Regions from separate parts of the Homo sapiens genome. Here region 1 is linked to region 2. Evidence: promoter capture Hi-C in human tissues and cell types (Jung and others, 2019). All regions are on one chromosome and are shown on one strand. Each heading gives the region's core, a stretch centred on a gene start or on the middle of the fragment in contact. The rest is flanking DNA. Distances are from core to core; before and after follow the strand shown.

Region 1 (3,284 bases), core at 745-3,244, 54 kb after region 2:
CAGCTGGGGCCGTGGGAGGAAGGGTGCCCCAGGCTTGGGGAAGGTGGGGACCTATTCCCCGCTCCCCAAGTGATTGTTGCGTGCTCTGGTGAGGGGACAGTGGTACCTCGATTTCCCATGTGCCAGCTTCGGGACTCAGCTGTGCTTTTGTGTCTCTTTGATTAGCAAAAGCAAAATGAATTCCTCCCTGAACACTAAGCTTCCTGGATACTTCCCTAGACCTAAACCTGAGAACCGCATATAAACAGGCCTTGAGGGTTCTGTTGTCAGTAGCGGGTTACCTGATTGCAAACTGAGCAAGTTTAAAACGGAGTGGGCTGCTTTGGGCTGCACAGCCGTCTGGCATTCAGACAGCTGAGCAGGAGGCAGAGGTGAGAGACCAAGATGGACTAAAAATGCTCTAGCTGCTGGGAGCTCATCTCGGCCCAGCCTCTTTGAAAGGAGGAACATTCGGTGCAGCCATTGGAACCTTATCCTTTATAAAATGGGACAGCTCACAGGATTACATTTCTAAGCCAATCCTGTGACCATCCTCCATGAAATTCTCTATTTTGGTTACATGTGGTCAAACTGAGCCTCACTGAAACAATTGAAAACAAATACTCTCGACAAATCTTAAAAATCGTTTTGAAAATCAAAAGGTATAGAAAATGTTGTGTCTTCTTTCTAAACTTTCTTCAGCCCAAATTCTGTTATTCTCTGATCTTTTATGGTGTAAAATCATACCCATTCCATTATATGTTGATTGTCAAGAAGGAAGTAGGCTTTTATTGCTATGTTTATGTCAGTTTCCATTTACTGTCTCACCACATTTATTGGGTTATTGCCTTTGCCTTTGACTCAACAGGAGCTGGAAGGGAAAGAATCCCAAATTCTGTTTCTTAAGGCAGCCAGTTGTCAGAATGGACTTTCCTCATTTTCTATTGTGAGGCCTGAAGAAAGACATTCAGTTCCAAAGGCTGTGCCTATCCTTTTAAATAAAAGAGAGAGGGCCCGGCACGGTGGCTCATGCCTGTAATCTCAGCACTTTAGGAGGCCGAAGCGGGCGAATCACGAGGTCAGGAGTTCGAGACCAGCCTGGCCAACATAGTGAAACCCCGTCTCTACTAAAAATACAAAAAATTAGCCAGGCGTAATGGCGGGCGCCTGTATTCCCAGCTGCTTGGGAGGCTGAGGCAGGAGAATCGCTTGAACCCGGGAGGCGGAAGTTGCAGTGAACTGAGATCACGTCACTGGACTCCAGCCTGGGGGACAGAGTGAGACTTCGTCTCAAAAAAAAAAAAAAGAAGAAGAAGAAGCCGTGCCAAGGATAGGTACTGACTGAAGCAGGAGGAACAAATTGGAAATGTGGGAATGCGAATGTGGGCAAGTTGAGGGACTTGTAGCTTCTCTTCGGTTGAATCTTTTTGCTGAAGCTGCTTTATTGTATCTGACATGTGAAACAGCACAATTTCAAACAAACCCATATTGAAGTCAACATACAAAAAAGCGTTTAAAAAACAGCCATTAGTGGCCGGGCGTGATGGCTCACGCCTGTAATCCCAGCACTTTGGGAGGCCAAGGCGGGCGGATCACGAGGTCAGGAGATCGAGACCATCCTGGCTAACATGGTGAAACCCCGTCTCTACTAAAAATACAAAAAATTAGCCAGGCGTGGTGGCGGGTGCCTATAGTCCCAGCTACTCGGAAGGCTGAGTCAGGAGAATGGCGTGAACCCGGGAAGCGGAGGTTGTAGTGAGCTGAAACCACGCCACTGCACTCCAACCTGGGCGACAGAGTGAGACTCCATCTCAAAAAAAAAACCATTAGTAAAAATAATTTTTTCAATTAACGCTATTTTTCCCTTGGTGTTGATAATCAGATAATCAAATAGCTTATTGCATATGGAAAGTTGTTTTCTTTGAGTTAATTCAACCTATTGCAACTTAGAATCCAGGAAAATATTATTTTCAAATATGTATTTGGAATCTTCAAAATATTAGATTACAAATTACCTTAAAATAAGAAATATTTATGCAGCATAGAAAAGTCAGCAGTTCTCTGAGGAAGGTAAATAGCAGTTAAAATATCATAATGCACTTTATATCAGTTGTAAAAAGAAAGATCCAGGCTTAGATTTATGGTATTACCATTAGAAATACAATATGAGTATTTAAGAAACATAGCAACCCTAGCCATTAAGTAGGCATCAAATAACATTCTGAATTAAGTTATAAGATAAAACCAAGATTTGGATGACAATGGCAATATTGTCCATCATTGTTATCCAATTCCTGGTTTTATCTTATAACTGGTTTTAGGGGCCATTCTAGTGAATTGTCCCTAAAAGATGTTTGAAAGTAGTTCCATGCACTTTTCCTGAATTAATTTAAATAATTGATTTCACAAACAATCAGATGGTATGCTGTAACATGTCATTGCACTAGAAAGAAAAAAAAACTCCACTAGTGGGGAATAATTTCAATAGAGGAAAGTAATGAATGTTGGATGTGAGTTCAGAAACCAGAGGTTGATAAAGTCTTACGATTGCTATATGCACTGTGGGTCTACTGTATTTGGAAAATTGCAAAACAAAATATTTTTTAAAGAACAAAAATCTGGTGAGTAGCATACACAGCTTTCAAAAATAAATTGCATAACTTCATATTTCAGTAATTAAAGATTTAACAATTGTGATTTTGTGGCTAAACAAAATATACTGAACACATTATGTATAAACGATGGATTCAAAGCTCCAGAAAATTATCTTAATGAGGCGTATAAACTCTTTTTGTTTAATGTCCACACCAAATCATTATGGTCTGCCATTTCATGAAATAACAAGAGTTTTAAAATAAGTGATGTTTTTTAGTTTGTGTATCTATATTCTTTCCTACCAGATATAGCACAGTGTAGTACAAGGGCCTACAGTTATAAGCCTTGGGAAAGATACTGTTTTGGCCACATATTTCAGCTATGTGACCCTGGAAAGAGGGTCTCAGAGGGACACTGTGGCCCTCAGTGTCTTTTCATTGGTAAATGGGGGCAACATCACTTTTATAATGACAGCTGAAAAAAATACAATTTTCCTTTTATTCTCCCTTCCTTTCATTTAGGCTGTAGTTTTCACTTTTTAACTACAAAGCAATTTATCTCTTGATAACACTTCTAGTGTATTGTCCCTAAAATATTTTTGAAAGTAGTTCTATACACTTTTCCTGAGTAATGAAAACATCACATATTTGCTAACTTGAAAGAATCCCGAGTCAGGAGATGGCCTGGATTCTCTTTGACCCTTCAACTGA
Region 2 (2,992 bases), core at 493-2,992:
GGAGCTGGGCATGAGGCTCTCAACCACTGTTCATCTCCTCTGGGAACAGAAAAATGTGCTTCAAATATCACTGAACACTATTCCACATTTATCCAGCTCTTCTTTAAGAAATTCTTACTTGTCTCCTATTTACTAACACTCACCCAGCATTTTATACCGTAAAAGTAGTCTCCCATCTCCTTATCCAGATTATTTCTTTCAACAGCAAAGTAGACATTGCTAACACTACACCTGTTTTACAGATTGAAAACAGACTCAGAAAGGTCAATGGCTTACCTGAGGTCACATAACCTAGATTTGATCCCATGTCTTTCTGACATCAGAGTCCATGACTCCCAACCCACATACCCCTACCTCTTAAAACCCAGTTGACTCTTTAGTCAGTCTTCAAGAATACCTCCTCCACCCCACAGGAGAGTGGGATGGGGCATAAAGTTAAGGAACCAGAAAGCTACTGCTGTGTGGGAACAATTTCCTAGCCAGCTGGGTCCTATTTTTGACTGAGGAAGAAGCTGGCACAAACTGGGGCCATGACCTTAAGATGCTCCCTGGACAGAGGAACTTGTGCACGTCTCTCCGTCAAAGCCCAGCACCTGCCTTTTCTCTTGCCATGGGACAAAAGACCAGCTCAAGCCCCCGATGCTAGGGTGAGTGAGGTCTTAGGACAGCGAGAAGTTATGGCTGGGATAGGGCACAGGCATTGAAGTACCACGTCAGACCTTGGTACAACCTTCCCTTCCTCCCACTAAATCTCTCCCCACAATGGATCTGCTGTCAGGAGTAGGAACTGCAGGAGGCTTCAACACTGTCCAGGCAGGAGCCCTGGGAGGGAGGGGGAGGCGGAGGCAAGGCAGAGGCTGCGTCTTTTCTCAGCTCTCTTCTTTACCAGGAATTCACTCTGGCGCAGGTCTAACTCTGGGCTAGAAACTCTCTCTGGGCGTCCGTGGTTGGGGTGGGGGGTGTGCACAGAGAACCCCCTCCCAAATTCCTAGTAGCTATTTTCTCTTCTGTGTCCTCCATCCTCTTCCCAGTGCAAGAGTAAATGCCATCCTGTGAGACCCAGTTCTCCTTGCCAGCTCCTGCCTCCCTAGGGGCATTTGGGTAGCCGGGAAAGGGGCCAGGCTGTCCCCTGGGCCGGCACCTCCTGCTGGACAGAGGCCCAGCATCCAGGTGGGGGCCTGCTCCCTTCACCAGGGCCAGTGACCAGCATCTCCACAGGGTTACTGCATCGGTCCTCCCTTCCCTGGGGAGCAGGTCCTTCTCCTCAGTGGGACTGCGGTTGGGGGGCCTCCCTGGCACCCTCATGGACTAGGCCATGGTCATTTATGCCCAGGGGAGTCCTGCCCATGACCCCAAAGGTCTCCACTGTCTCCATCCCTCTCAGTGAAATGAATGTTCCTCATCTCTGCTCCCCGGGCGCCTGGCACCCCCGGACAGACGCCCTCGCCGACCTCCCACACTGCCCCTCTGCTCGGGGGAGCCTGCAGACCACGGGGGTGCTGGGGAGGCCCGAGCTTCCACCCAGCCCCAGCCCCTCGGGGATATGCCCCCGCCCCACAGGCGCTCTCACCTCACCGCTGACCGCCGCGATCTACCGGGCGCTGGGGCCAGGCCCTCGGGTCCCGCCGGTCCGGGCTGCCGCCTAGTCTGGGCTGAGTTGGGCAGGGCAGCTCCGCGGCCCCCACGGCCCCGCACCCTCTGCCTCCCCGCGGGTGCTGCCGCCGCTTGCTGAAATGCTGGACAGCGCACCGCCACCGAGGCGCCTCTCTGCTCGCCCGCCAGCCAGAGCGGCCCAGCCCCGCGCCCGCAGCGCCCTCCGCAGGCCTGGAGGAACGCCCGCAGCGGAGGCAACAGCCCGGGCGGCTGGGCCGGGCCGTCTCCCGGCCGGCTCCCCCTCCTCCCCGCCCCCTTCGCCCCCCTCCCCCCCTTCCCCTCGCCCCTCACCTCCCCACACCCCCGCCCCTATCCCCAGCCCCCGGGGACATCTGTTTCCCCCACTTGCGAGAGGAGGCATGTCAGCCCTGGAAGGCGCCTGGGGCAAGGGAGGTTATTAGTTTGGATCTGGGAAATGCAGTCGGTGTGCAGAGGCCTCGCCAGGACACTCTCTTCCCACCCAGTGTTAAAGAAGGCACCAGGGGCTGGGCGCGGTGGCTCACGCCTATAATCCCAGCACTTTGGGAGACTGAGGCGGGAGGATCACTTGAGGCCAGGAATTCGAGACCAGCCTGGCCAACATGGTGAAACCCAGTCTCTACTAAAAATACAAAAATTAGCCAGGCGTGGTCGCAGGCACCTGTAATCCCAACTACTCAGCTACTTGGGAGGCTGAGGCAGGAGAATCGCTTGAATCTGGGAGGCGGAGTTGCAGTGAGCCAAGATCGCACCATTGCACTCCAGACTGGGCGACAAGAGCAAGACTTAGGGTCAAAAATAAAATAAAATAAAATAAAATAAAAGGCACCAGGGAGGTGAGGTGGGAGGATCGCTGGAGCCCAGGAATTTGAGGCTGCAGTGACCTATGGTGGCGCCACTGCACTCCAGCCTGAATGACAGAGGCTGTCATTTTTTGACACCATCTCAAAAATTTAAAAAAAAAAAAAGGAGGGTGTAGTGTGAGAGACATCCTAATGGAGACAGGAGATTTTAAATTATTTTTTTAAATTTTAAAATTTTGGCTGGATGCAGTGGCTCACATCTGTAATCCTAACATTTTAGGAGGCTGAGGTGGGAAATCACTGAGCTCAGGAGTTTGAGACCAGCCAGGCCAACATGAGGAAACCCTGTCTCTATGAAAAATACAAAAATTTGCCAGATGTGGTGGCATGCATGCACCTGTGGTCCCAGCTACTTGGGAGGCTGAAGTGGGAGGAAGGCTTGAGCCTGAGAAGCGAAGGTTGCAGTGAACCAAGATTGCTCCATTGCACTCCATCCTAGGTGACAGAGCCTCAATTTGTCTCAAAAACAAAAACAAAACAAAAAAACAAAAACAACA

The links. The method cuts DNA at HindIII sites, captures the fragments that hold promoters and counts their contacts. A contact is called where the count stands out against the background at its distance.
Region 1: a fragment that was not itself captured here is called in contact with the fragment with the promoter of SRRM3 in region 2 in 4 of the 25 tissues and cell types used here (IMR-90 fibroblasts, lymphoblastoid cells, mesenchymal stem cells and 1 more).

What each region holds. Positions count from the first base shown.
Region 1 is chr7:76,146,683-76,149,966 of GRCh38, reverse strand. It overlaps the pseudogene LOC100996476. Among named protein-coding and RNA genes, the nearest start is that of SRRM3, 54 kb to the left of the region's middle. The HindIII fragment of the contact is 4,745 bases long and covers 1-3,284 here.
Region 2 is chr7:76,200,646-76,203,637 of GRCh38, reverse strand. SRRM3 (serine/arginine repetitive matrix 3) reads right to left here and starts at 1,742. Exons shown (of 15, transcript NM_001110199.3): 1 at 1,571-1,742. RefSeq lists a silencer at 1,656-1,895. The HindIII fragment of the contact is 14,936 bases long and covers 1-2,992 here.